4 separate regions of the Homo sapiens genome follow, and all the other regions are linked to region 2. The links are contacts of gene promoters, found by promoter capture Hi-C in human tissues and cell types (Jung and others, 2019). All regions are on one chromosome and are shown on one strand. Each heading gives the region's core, a stretch centred on a gene start or on the middle of the fragment in contact. The rest is flanking DNA. Distances are from core to core; before and after follow the strand shown.

The links. The method cuts DNA at HindIII sites, captures the fragments that hold promoters and counts their contacts. A contact is called where the count stands out against the background at its distance.
Region 1: a fragment that was not itself captured here is called in contact with the fragment with the promoter of SALL4 in region 2 in 2 of the 25 tissues and cell types used here (H1 embryonic stem cells and spleen).
Region 3: a fragment that was not itself captured here is called in contact with the fragment with the promoter of SALL4 in region 2 in 2 of the 25 tissues and cell types used here (mesendoderm cells and spleen).
Region 4: a fragment that was not itself captured here is called in contact with the fragment with the promoter of SALL4 in region 2 in 1 of the 25 tissues and cell types used here (spleen).

What each region holds. Positions count from the first base shown.
Region 1 is chr20:52,058,573-52,061,908 of GRCh38, reverse strand. No RefSeq gene overlaps it. Among named protein-coding and RNA genes, the nearest start is that of ZFP64, 130 kb to the left of the region's middle. The HindIII fragment of the contact is 3,148 bases long and covers 289-3,336 here.
Region 2 is chr20:51,801,060-51,804,263 of GRCh38, reverse strand. It overlaps SALL4 (spalt like transcription factor 4), which reads left to right and starts at 1,743. Exons shown (of 4, transcript NM_020436.5): 1 at 1,743-1,985. The coding sequence starts at 1,856. RefSeq lists enhancers at 1,397-2,038, 2,682-3,204. The HindIII fragment of the contact is 8,319 bases long and covers 1-3,204 here.
Region 3 is chr20:52,100,274-52,103,536 of GRCh38, reverse strand. It overlaps a transcript of ZFP64 not described here. Among named protein-coding and RNA genes, the nearest start is that of ZFP64, 90 kb to the left of the region's middle. The HindIII fragment of the contact is 5,658 bases long and covers 1-3,263 here.
Region 4 is chr20:51,388,154-51,391,837 of GRCh38, reverse strand. NFATC2 (nuclear factor of activated T cells 2) reads left to right here. Exons shown (of 11, transcript NM_012340.5): 11 at 387-3,684. All of the region lies in intron 2 of LOC105372663 (a long non-coding RNA gene), which reads right to left. Among named protein-coding and RNA genes, the nearest start is that of MIR3194, 63 kb to the left of the region's middle. The HindIII fragment of the contact is 4,969 bases long and covers 1-3,684 here.

The DNA.
Region 1 (3,336 bases), core at 613-3,112, 260 kb before region 2:
AAAAATACAAAAATTAGCTGGGAGTGGTGGCAGGTGCCTGTAATTCCAGCTACCTGGGAGACTGCAGCATGACAGTCAGTTGAACCCAGGAGGCAGATGTTGCGTTGAGCCAAAATCGTGCCACTGCACTCCAGCCTGGGTAACAGAGCAAGACTCTGTCTCAAAACAAAAACAAAAACAAAAATCACGCTTTAAAAAAAGTTAAAAATTAAATAAATAAATAAATAAATAAATGAGTGTAACACTTAGCACAATTGGTTAGCAGTTCACTTGCCTATTTCCTGTACTATTGATAGGATAGGGGTCAGGACTCTTTCATTTACTGCCTATACCTAGCTCCTAAATCTGTCTGAAATGCAGGAGGTATCAGTAAATGTTTGTTGAATGTATAAGTGAATGAAACTCGCATATTTTTTAAAAACTCCATTATGGATAGTAGGTAGCAGATGGTTGTGGGAATGGGGTGAAATTACACAGCAAAATGTTCTTTTTATTAAGGGTCTAGATTTCTCCTGTTTCCAGGTGGCAACCCCTCTAAGGAGGGGGATCTGGATTTGGAAGTTCCCGTCTGAGTTTAGGGCCAGCGCTCCCTGTCAGTTCTTTGCCTCACCTTAAGATGTCACTAAATGACTTGGGCCATGGCTTCCACTGGCTGTCAGGGAAAAGCTGGGAGGTCAGGACAGGAAGGGAGGAAATGACCCGGTGTTATGAACAAATCTCCCACTTCCTCCAGCGCCTGGCAGACAAGGTGACAAGGCGCTGATGTCCCCCACCCAGCTTTACAAGCTGTTCATTAGCACACCTGATATTCCAGAGCCATGGAACTTTCTGTTTCCTTCTACAACCAGAACCTTGACAAATCAGACCAAGCTGGATAAATCATATCACATCATGATTGACTTCCTGTTGTGGGTCCAGCACTGTCTCTAGGGCTCTAGGATAGACTCAACAGAAACGTTCCGTAATATTTCTGCTCTCCAGAAGTAGTTGGGGGGCTAAGACATACAGGAAAGAAAAAATTTAAAATAGTACAAGATTCTACAGGCAACGTGGTATTCTGGATTGGGTCCCGGAGAAGAAAAATGGACATTCGTGAAAAAATTGGCAAAGTACAAATAAAACCTCTAGTTTAGTTGATAGTGTTGTATCAATGTTAATTTCTTAGTTTCGATGAATATATCATGGTTACCTAAGATGCTAACATCAGGAGAAGCTGGGTGAAGCATATGCAGGAACTCTCTGTACTATCTTTGCAATATTTCCATAAATTTAAAGTAATCCAAAATTGGCTAGGCACAGTGGCTCATGCCTGTAATCCCAGCACTTTGGGAGGCCGAGGCAGGAGGATCACTTGAAGTCAGGAGTTCGAAACCAGCCTGGCCAACATGGTGAAACCCCGTCTCTACTAAAAATACAAAAATTAGCCAGGCGTGATGGTGCACACCTGTATTCCCAGCTACTCGGGAGGCTGAATCACTTGAACACTGGAGGCAGAGGTTGCAGTGAGCCAAGATCGCGCCACCGCACTGCAGCCTGGGAGACAGAGGGAGACTCCGTCTCAAAATAATAAATAAATAAATAATAAATAAATGTCCAAAATTAAAAGCTTTAAAAGTATTCAAGACAGTGTTGGCTTGGATGGTCTGCATGTATATTGTAGTAGTCCAGAGATACTGGATGAATCCCTGGACTCAGACCTGAAACTGAGTCCCTCTCCCCGCCAGCTACCAGCTGTGTGACTTAGGGCAAGTGACTTAACCTTGCAGAACCTCAGTTTTCTTTTTCTTTATTTTCTGTCTTATTTTTAATTTTTAATTTTTTTCTTTTTTAGAGGCAGGATCTTGCTCTGCTGCATAGACTGGAGTGCAGTGATGCAATCACCACTCACTGCAACCTCACTCCTGGTCTCAAGCAATCCTCCTGCCTCAGCCTCCTGAGTAGCTAGGACTACAGGTGCATGTCACCACACCCAACTAAATTTTTATATTTTGTAGAGATGGGGTCTCACTATGTTGCCCAGGCTGGTCTCAAACTCCTGGCCTCAAGTGATTCTCCTACCTCGCCCTCCCAGAGTGTTACAGGCATCAGTCACTGTGCCCAGCCCCTCAGTTTTCTTAGTTTTAAAAAACACCAAGCTCATGAAGTTACTGTGAAGTCTCCAGGAGATAATATATAAATGCTCCTGGTCCAGTGCCTGCACAGGGTAAATTCTCAATACCTGCTGGTTTTTTCCTTCTCTGTCATTTCAGGAAAAGTAGCAATCAGTTGGGCTTCAGGATTCAGAAAAGAAATAACAAGATGAGATTTGTAGTCAGTCATTGGAGTTGGCTAAGGTTGAAGTTAGAGAAGTGGAAGCTGGACAAGAATCCCGCACAAAGGTGACCCAAGAGGATCACTCTGTCAGTTTCAATTTTAGGAAACATACTTCTTAAGCTATTGGAAGGAGGCATTTTTATATTATAACTAGTCTTGAAAAATTGTGGATTTTTTTCTAAGATAATCTCAGAGATGAGCAAAATAATATTTGTGAAGGTTATTCATGATAGCACTGATTGTAAAGGCAAAAGATTGAAAACCACTTAAATGTTTCTAAATAGGGAGGAGCCTGGCTAAATTCACTCCATGGAATTCATTGAAAACATTAAAAGCTGTATATTAAAAAATATAAAGCAGCTGGGTGTGGTTGCTCATGCCTGTAATCCCAGCATTTTGGGAGGGTGAGGTTGGAAGATCGCTAGAGCTCAGGAGTTTGAGACCAGCCTGGACAACATAGCAAGACCTTGTCATTACAAAAAATTTAAAAACTAGCTGGGCATGATGATGCATATCTATAGTCCTGGCTACTTGGGAGGCCAAGATGAGAATATTGCTTGAGCCCAGAAGATTGAGGCCACAGTGAGCCATGATTGTGCCACTGCACTCCAGCCTGGATGACAGAGAAAGACCCTGGCTCTAAAAAAAAAAATACACACACACACACACTTATATATATAAACAAGTCTATGTATATATACACACACACATAAACACAGACTTGCTTTATAGATATATGACATGGCCATAGCTAAAGCTATATAGACAGAAAAAAAATGCAGAATGGAACACACAGTATGTTACCATTTGCAGATCAAAAAAGTATGAATGAGTGTTTATTCATATGTTCATCAATATCTCTGGAAAGATACACAAGAACCTGATGACAGTATTTCCTACTTGGTTGACACCAAAACCAGAGACCATTCAAGTCACATCCATCTTGTTAAACATCTTGTTAAAATGTTATTGCCGGTAAAATGTTACATTTCTTTTGTTTAGAAATTGTTAACCAGAATTTGT
Region 2 (3,204 bases), core at 494-2,993:
CACATTCGTTTAGATTTGTAAGTTAGATCTCCTGCCACACTATCTTACACAGAAAAGGTGTTGAGAATATTAGTAGATTAGTCAGCAAGGCAGGTGCTAATTGGCCTTTTTACTCAGTATCAGAATTCTAAACTGCTTCTATGTATTATTAAACCAAATTCTTACCTTTTCAATCTGGCTGTTGGCTATAATTCTGTCTTACTTGCTTTAAATATTATACATAAAATAAGGCAAGACTTTTTCAGAGACTCAAAAATTGAAGGTTAATCTTCCTTCAACAAGTTTTTACTGATGGCCACGAATATAAAAAAGATGATCAAGCTGATTTATTTTCTGCCTTGGGTTGTCCAAATACCCAGGTGAACACATTGATGAGCCCAGCATTCCATTTTGCTTGTATTCCTGATGAGTTTACAAGCTGGGAACGTGATGAATAACTAATCAAGAGAATGCAATGCACAAATGTGGAGGGAGGGTTTATATCTGCACAGTCCCTTACAATGAAGTAAATGCCAAACAAAGACGCATGCCCAGAGCAGTTATGGAAAGACCAATCAAAGACTTAGCAGGTTGATGATTTCATCATTCATTTAACATTTATTGAGCATGTACATTGTGTAAAGCAGTTAGCCAAATTAAGTATACATGAATTTACGGTATAAATGTGTATACATGTAATATATCATATACACACACACAAGCCCCACTTTAAAAAATTCCAGGCATCATGTGTCAATGATACAATCACTTTGAACGATACACCTTTTCTGTAATAATGTGTGTATTGCACAAAAAAATTCCAATAGTGATTAGTAACAACCAGATACTGTGACAGTGCCCCATTGCCATTCCATGGGAGATGCAAGAGCATTGTCTCAGTAATAAAATATGATGTTATCAGGCATTTATGGCTCCTGGGGAAAAAAATGCAATTGCTTGCTGTTTTGATATTATCTCTGACTATGCTTGCTTATCATTTGCCATTTCTATATTTAGTAGCCAGTCATTTTGAAGTTAAAAAAAAATCAAGGTTTGCATTGTAACCACAAACCAGTCTTTGTGAACAGGAATCCTGGAGGCTATTAATCAGCTTTTAAAGGAGGTAAGTCATGGTGGTGGTGGGGTATCTGAAATTTTGGAAGTTCCGAGCTCACTTTAAGAGTTGAGATGGGTGGGAGGGCTGAAAACACCACCATTCATCATTCTTCAGTTATCTCGAGACTCAACTTAAACATTTTTAATCAAAAAGATGGGAGGGGACACGGGTCACATCTCAGGTTTGGGGGAATGTGTGTGCGTGTAGATGTGAAAACTGAGCCAAAATATTCCACTGTGAAGAGATCTCCCTTCTCGGCTGGTGGACATCAACCTTACCAAGTAATCTTTGGAGCAAGTAACTACCAAATAAAGCCGTTCCAAAACTTCTACGTAAGCTCCTACTTTTTAATGAGTACGCATTTCTCCCCATTTTCTTTTCCTCTCCAAGGACTGAGATAGCTGGAGCAAGGATGGGTCCCCCTCTGATTTCGTCCCCGCCCCAGCCAATCTGAGCCCGGATGCTAATTAGCTGCGCTCCCCTGATGAACACGCCTTTGTCACAAGTAGGCCCGGACTACAAAGCCCAGAATGCCTCACCCCTCCCTGATCAATGAGGGCTTATTTAAATGATCTCTGAGGTCTTGGACCCAGGCCAATCAGCTGTCAGGGCTCATGATAAATCGCAATGCATTATTGATAATAATAATTACTGGGACATGCGCGTTCCGGCCGAAGGGGGGTAAATTTCCCAACTCCAGGAATTTGTGGCGGAGAGGGCAAATAACTGCGGCTCTCCCGGCGCCCCGATGCTCGCACCATGTCGAGGCGCAAGCAGGCGAAACCCCAGCACATCAACTCGGAGGAGGACCAGGGCGAGCAGCAGCCGCAGCAGCAGACCCCGGAGTTTGCAGATGCGGCCCCAGCGGCGCCCGCGGCGGGGGAGCTGGGTGAGTGGGGCTGGGGCGCCCGCCCGGGGAGGGGAGCTTCCCGGACGTACGCGGGATCCTCGAGGGCGCAGGCTTCGGGGAGCGGGCGGCGTCCAGCGCAAATTCAGGAGCCGAGATTTGGGGGCTCAGTGCCCGGGAGGAGAGGTCTCCTCCTCTCCCCACCACCCCGCCTTTTGCACATTTCACACTTTTTTCCTCTTCTCCCCTCTTGTGTAAGTTTCACCCCCAGCTTTCTCCCCTAATTGTAAAATTGACCCCCACTCGCTCCTCTGTTCTCGCTCCCGAAAGGTTCCCTTCTCCTTGTCCTCTGCCCCTCACTTAATTGGTTCCACTCCCCTCACTGGTGTTACCCCCCCCCCTTGTAACTTAGGTCCCCCTCCCTCGCGTCGCTCTCAAAAGAAAGAACCCCGGGGGATCCCCACCCTCTCCACCAGCCCCTTGGGGCTTTTCTTGGAGGCTGGAGGAGGGGCGCACCCCTGGAAGACCCCCCGGAGGAGGACGATCTGTTGCACGCGCCCCTCCCGGGCCAAGTGGGGGGAGGGGGCGCGACCTCTCCCCACCCTCAGGAGCTGGGGTGCGGGCCACCCGCGCTGCGCAGGGGATTGGAGGGCCCAGAGAGGTGGGGGAGGAGGGCTCAATGTTTCCCTTTAAAATTTTTTTCTTTTCTGGATTTCGCCTTTTCTGCCCGGGCTGCGCCGCCTGCCGATCTTCGCCCTAACCTTTCGGGGCCTGACCTCCAGCCATCTTTGATTTCCGACTTCCTAAAAATAACCGCGGCAAGCCCGAGGGTGCGAGCCCCCAGTGGCCGGGGTGGCGGGCGCGCGGCAGCCCCACTGGGGTGCACCGGCCTCCCGTTTTGCGTGGCTTTTCTGGAGCGCTCGGCTTTCCACATTTGCGCTTGGGTGTGAAAGGGGAGAGGTGGGGGGCCAGAGCGAACTCCCGCGGCTGACCTGGCCCACGCTTCCGCGGCCAGCGTTTCCCAGATCGAGGGGAGTTCGGGACCCCAGCCGCGCCAGGAACGGCGGGGCCAACTCTGTTCCCACTTCATCACTTCACCGCGGAGGTTTTAGGAGCGAGGCGGTTTTCCACTATCTCGTCTCCATCCCGGCCCGCCAAATTGTCGCCTGATAAGTTTTTAGCGTGCGCGTGGGGGGAGGGGGGATTTGTAGCCTCCTCTCCGGCCTTGTTCGTCGCTCCGCTCCCCGCCTGCTTTCTAATT
Region 3 (3,263 bases), core at 10-2,509, 300 kb before region 2:
GGCATGGGGAGGGTGTCGTGCGTCCTGGAGTACTGAGGTGACTTCTGTGGGAGCAGGACGCAAACTCTGCCGGCCCAGTAGTGTGCCTCAACCCCAGCCACCACTTCGGAGAAAAAACCGTCTTCCAACTGACGTTTTATCCTAGTACCTTTGGTCTGCGACACTGGCAAGGGGGTACATTTTTTACGAAGGTTGGGCCACTCTTAATTTGCAAGTGTCTTTGCAACTCAAGTAGCTTTTGGAGGAAAATAAAATGGAAAGTAATTAGTGGACTTCCTGTCACCACCAGTAAAATGACGAAGGGGCTGGAGGAACCTTACTGAGGGAACATCATCCGTTTCCCCAGGAGTTAAAACCCTCGCCATGCTAACCTGGTTTCTAATAGTCAAATGCGGCCCACCCCCACTTCCAGAGGCAGAGGGTCTCCCCCAGCTGCACCTTTCCCAGGAGAGTGGGCTTCAGGCCTTCTTTGGTTTCCTGGGTGTCTAAACGTAAAAGAAATCGGAGGCCCCTCACACCTCCCCATCAGAGGCTCTATCTGGGTCATCCTTTAACCCACCTCTCTCTCACTTTTCTAGTTTGCGTTGAAAACATGCATCTTTCTCCCCCTGAGAATCTGGTAGAATCTTACGTGTGTATATCAGTGAATAACACTAATAGCATTTATACAGTATTGACTAATACATGAGGTTCTCTTACATATACTAAAGAACTTCATCTAAGCTAATGAGACGGCCATAATACCCATTTCACAGATGTGGAAACTGAGGAACGGGGAAGTTGAGTAGCTTATCCAGTGGGACACAGCTAATGGTAAAACTGGAATTGAAACTTATCAGCTGGTTTCCCAGTCTGTTCCCCAAACCACTGTGTTATACAGTGCCTCACTTAGATTTGTTTTCAGTCTTGCTTGACTTCTGTGGAATTAAAACCCTCAAGAGTTTAATGGTTTTCTCTTCTAGTATGTGAGTTGCTATGTAATGAGGCTTTGTTTGTGTCTGTCCCTGAGGGACATAGGATGGGTTGCAGATCTGGCAAGTGTGGGTTCCAATGAGCTGAAAACTTCCAGTCCTGCAACCTTGAGCATCTGAGCCAGTTTCTTGCTCACAGAGCAAGAGACTCAAAAGTATGGTTCCCAGACCAGCATCGGCATCAACTGGGAACTTGTTAGAAGTGAAAAATCGCAGGCTCCACCCCATACCTACTCAATCAGGAACTCCAAATGGGAGCCCCTGCCACCTGTGTTTTAAGTAGCCTTCTAGGCAATTCTGATACACGCTGACGTCTGAGAACCACTGGCTGTGAGCTGTGCTTCTCAAATTGTAATGTGCTGTGCTCAGGAATCACCTGGGGATCTGGCTAAAGTACAGATTGGTTCTGTAAGTCTGGAGTAGGGCCTGAGACTGCTGCCTTTTTTTTTTTTTTTTTTGGAGATGGAGTTACTCTCACCAGGCTGGAGTGCAGTGGCACGATCTGGGCTCACTGCAACCTCTGCCCCACAGGTTCAAGCGATTCTCCTGCCTCAGTCTCCTGAGTAGCTGGGATTACAGGCACATGCCACCACACCTGGCTAATTTTTTTTTTTTTTTTTTTTTTGGTATTTTTAGTAGAGACAGGTTTCACTGTGTTAGCCAGGATGGGACGCCTGCCTCAGCCTCCCAAAATGCTAGGATTACAGGCATGAGCCACGGCACCCGGCTGAGACTCTGCATTTTTAACAAGCTCTCAGGTGATGCTGGTGCTCTAGGGACCACCCTTTGAGTAGCAAGGACTTACAAGTAATACAGCAGAATCATCTGGCAAGTGCTTCAAAAATGCAAGGCCCTGAGGTCAGGTGTGGTGGCTCATGCCTGTAATCCCAGCACTTTTGAGTGGTTAAGGTGGGCAGATTGCTCGAGCTCAGGAGTTTGAGACCAGCATGGGCAACATGGCAAAACCCTGTCTCTATAAAAACAAAACTACAAAAAATACAAAACTACAAAAAAATACAAAAATACAAAAACTAGGCATGTGGTGGTGCATGCCTGTGGTCCCAGCTATTCGGGAGGCTGAGGTAGGAGGATGGCTTGAGCCTGGAAGGCGGAGTTTGCAGTGAGCCATGTTGGTGCCACTGCACTCCAGCCTGGGTGACAGCGAGACCTTGTCTCAAAAAAAAATCGCAAGTCCCTGGAATCGCAAGTCCTTACTTGATCCACACTACCACCCCTCCTCCTGCCCCTAAGTTTTCAGTGAGTATAGGGTAAGGCCTGGGAAACTACACTGAACCCATGATCTAGGTGATTGTGACACAGATAGTATCAGGATTACACTTGGAAGAAACATTGGGAGTAGGACTACTGCAGACTTTCTCAACCCCAGCCCTATTGACCTTTGGGGCTGCATCGTTTCCTTGTGGGGGCTGTCCTATGCCCTATAGGATGTCTAGCAGCATCCCTGGCCTTCACCCACTAGATGCCATTCTCAAACATGCATGCAAACAGAATCATGACAATTGAAAATGTTCCCAGGCATTGCTGAGTGTCCTTTGGTGGTAGAATGGCCCCCAGTTGAGAGCCACTGGACTAGATCACTTGTTAAGGGGCTTCGAGCACAACTGCTAGGATGTGAAATCTGTAGTCCTCACTTGCGACATCTGAAGCCACGCAATTGTATTTACTCAGATGACACTGTACTGAGAACTTATATATTTTTTCATCTTGTTTAACTCTGCAACTCTGAGGCATGTAATCTCCTTTTGCAAACGAGTAAACTGAAGCTCAGAAAGGTTAAGTAGCTTGCCAATAGTTGCACAGCACATAGCTGAGCAAACCCTCTGCCTAAAACTGAAGCCCTCACCACTGTGCTCTACAGCCTCTCATGCTAAGATTCCTTCACCCGCACAAACTTCTCAATAAAAGTGATAATCCACCTTTTGTAATAACCTTAGGACAGAGAAAGTCCCAGACCTTGGCCTATAATTCATAAGCTAGTCAATCTTCTAAGACTTTAGATGGCTGTACACAGTGGCTCGTGGCTATAGTCCCAGCACTTTGGGAGGCTGAGATGGGCGGATCACTTGAGGTCAGGAGTTCAAGACCAACTTGGCCAACATGGTGAAACCCTGTCTCTACTAAAAATACAAAAATTAGGCAGGCGTGGTGGCGCACGTCTGTAATCCCAGCTACCTGGGAGTCTGAGGCAGGAGAATCGCTTGAACCCAGGAGGCAGAGGTTGCAGTGAGCTGAGATGGTACCACTGCACTCCAGTCTGGGCGACAGAGTGAG
Region 4 (3,684 bases), core at 808-3,307, 410 kb after region 2:
AAAAAGTATTTAAAAAAAATAGAGATGGGCAGAATGGTTCATGCCTGTAATCCCAACACTTTGGGAGGCTCAGGTGGGAGGATCGCCTGAGCTCAGGAGTTTGAGACCAGCCTGGGCAACAGAGTGAGACCCTGTCCCTACTAAAAATTTAAAAATGTAGTCAGGTGTGGTGGCGTGCACCTGTATGTAGTCCCAGCTACTCGGGAGGCTGAGGCTGCAAGGAGCCATGATCATGCCATTGCACTCCAGCCTGGGTGACAGAGCAAGACCTTGTCTCAAAAATCAATAGCCCAATAGAGGTTCTAGAAAGTGAACCTGATGCATGTTTTCGGTGCCCTCTCACTTGCCCCATTCTCTCTCCCCCCCCCTCCTCTTTTCTTTTGTAGTTAATGAAATTATCAGGAAGGAGTTTTCAGGACCTCCTGCCAGAAATCAGACGTAAAAGAAGCCATTATAGCAAGACACCTTCTGTATCTGACCCCTCGGAGCCCTCCACAGCCCCTCACCTTCTGTCTCCTTTCATGTTCATCTCCCAGCCCGGAGTCCACACGCGGATCAATGTATGGGCACTAAGCGGACTCTCACTTAAGGAGCTCGCCACCTCCCTCTAAACACCAGAGAGAACTCTTCTTTTCGGTTTATGTTTTAAATCCCAGAGAGCATCCTGGTTGATCTTAATGGTGTTCCGTCCAAATAGTAAGCACCTGCTGACCAAAAGCACATTCTACATGAGACAGGACACTGGAACTCTCCTGAGAACAGAGTGACTGGAGCTTGGGGGGATGGACGGGGGACAGAAGATGTGGGCACTGTGATTAAACCCCAGCCCTTGCGTTCGTTTTTCCAGGTCACAGATACAGCTCCTGTACCTTTTGAAGGCAAGGAGTTCTCAGAGCAACCAAAGGAACGTGACCCAAGAGCCCAGCTTACAGGCTGAAGAAACCCAAAACCCTCGATAGAGACAGAAACTGAACTGTCAGTCCTTAGAGCTCGCCCAGTCCATGCCACAACTGGGCCACAGCTAAAGCTTTATTTTTGAATTCTCATTCCAAAACCAAACTGTCTTGCCCAGACAAGATCACCTGTTAAGACTTCTTGGCGTTAAGTTATGACATGTATACGCGTTTGTTATTATTATTTTTTCTGCTTTAAAAGGCTGACCAGGGCACCTAGCCCTGGAGCTGTCTTGGCGAGCTGTTCTTTAACCCCTGCAGCACGCAGTCCTGCTAACACAATTTCCATAGACTTGGGGGGCTGACCCAGGCTGCAGAGAGCAAGCACCTGTCTGCTGCAGCTGTACAACCTGGATGCTTTGCAAGGTTCCGGCTTGCTTTCTTCCTAGCAGCCAGAGTGCTTTTCCGTAAAGCGGTGGAGAATCTCAAGCATGTGCATTTAATTGAGGAATAGCAGAAGGGCTAAAGCAACCAAGAAAAGAAGTGTGGGTATTTTTGTTAAGTAAAACAGCCCAAGTGCTTCTGGAGGTGGGTTTCTACCAAGATAGAGGAAAAGGGCTGAATTCCCTCTAAGTGGGACAGCCGAGCTCAGGATGTGCTTCCCAGCTTCACTGGTTAATTTGACCTGAACCTATTTAAAGATCCCTTCTGCCCCTGAAGACCTATCCGCACTCAAATTCTAACATGAAGAAATCTACTCGAATGCATCCTTTACTTTGAATGAGCTCTATTCGGTTGCATGTTATATGTGATTTCCTTCCTCCCAACTGTTTCCACTGAGCGCACCCAGTCTCCCCTAGTCTTCCTCTGTGGGTGTGATTTTTGTGATTTTTACAAACAAAACCCTTGAAGTTCTTGGCAGATGTGTTTGTTTCTGTTTGCATGTACTGCAGATACCCCAGGACAAGCGGGGGATTCATTTTTCAGCCATTCAGTTGTTTCCTCAATAATCCGCAGCAAAGTGAAAATATTCTTAGCACTCAGACTGTACTTAGAGTGTTTTCTCAGTCCAGTCTGTACAGTCTGTAGGCAGAAGGCCTCAGAAGAAAGTCATGGCCACTCAGTGCCCACTGTGGGCTTTGTAAGTCCTGGCTCTCCCGTCAAGGTTACCCAGAGGTAAAAGCTTCCTGGGAGTGGGGCCAGGTGTGTTTGGCACTCCAGATAGAAGGCAAAATGCTCAGATTCGGGCCTGTGCACTTGTATGCAACCTGTCGGTCGATACCTAGCATTTATTTTTCCCTGACAATGAACGACCTTTCCCTCACCCACCCTAAGCTCAAAGAGTTTAGCAAAATTCTCTTTTAAATAAACAGAATGCCAGTAAGAGGTTGACCCCTACCATGGAACTTCTGGGATGCTAAATACTTCCTCATGAACAAAATAAGTTCCTTATTATAAGTTCCTTATACTAGCAGCTTCACCTAAAGAATTTTCTCTCCAGCAATATTGACTTCACTGGGGAAAAGCCAAGAGTGTGTGGTGAGTGATTTGTTCTCACTCGACCTGGCTAGGACTGGCTAGGAGCTGTTTTTTGTACATGAGGGAATTTGGGCTTTCCTCAGTTATCTGAATGTTTTACCCAAGTGCCTTCCTGCTATTGTAGCAAAGTAGCTCAGCTTCCTTGTCCACAGGGTGAAAAAGGACTAATGCATTTTCCATCAGTTTTCTAACTATGTTAGCAAAAACGGCCTCCTGGTAGCTCAACCTCCTGTACGCGTGTGTGTGTGTAATACACACACAAATAAACCCCTCTGTTTTTCTAAGACATCTTAGCTGGATATTATAGGAAGCACTTTCATAAACAACTGTAACAAATCGCAAAGGAAAGAGAAACAAAAGCATTAGATTTGAGACATAAACAGGCAAGAGAAAGTGTATTAGGAACTGACAGCTATCAAGGAAGTTTTGTCAGTTACAAATGCTAGGAGGAAATTTTGCCAAGAAGGATGGCTCATGAAATATTTCCAGTACGGGAAGAGGCAATAAGATCCTCTAAGAGAATGAGAAAGTAGGGGTGTCTAAATGGTAAAGATGGGTGTGTTGCACGTGTGTTAGAAGGATCTCAGTTGAGTGAAGGTTTGCACTGCTACATCTAAGTTAATGTAAATATGTAGCACTCTGACAGGTCTACCGTGTTGCTGAATGTAGTATATTTCCAAAGTTTGCAAGTCTTCCTGTATTGTACAAAGATGCTGCTGCTTGATAATATGTATAGCAATCCAGATTAGTATGTTATTAAATTTTATTTTCTTACCTGTATTTTTATGCTTTTTACCTGTCCTCAAAATATTACACCCCTGTTGGAATTAGATTTATATTTATAAATGGTCAGAAATCTTTTTAAGTGTCTCTTTTTACACATAGGTTGATTTTTTTTTCTTAAGAGAAATGATGTATTCTTGAAACATTTGTTACTCATTCCAGGAAACAAAAACCCATATAATAAAACCCCCACTCAGAGCCTGTTAGTCACCTCTCTAGAAGATGGCATCTCAGGAGAAGGAATGGCTTTGTGGAAGAAGGAATCACCTTTTTCTTGCTCAAGAATTATGCTGACTTCAGCCCTGAGCCTGGATCTGGTCACTGAGAATCATCAAGTGTCTAGATCCTCCCCCCAAAATAACTAATTTAGTAGGTGATTTTGATTTTAAAAAATTGACACCAAAACCCTGCCTGCATTGTAATGGAATTCGAAAAGAATTCATGTTCACAGAACTCAACGTTCAGGCTA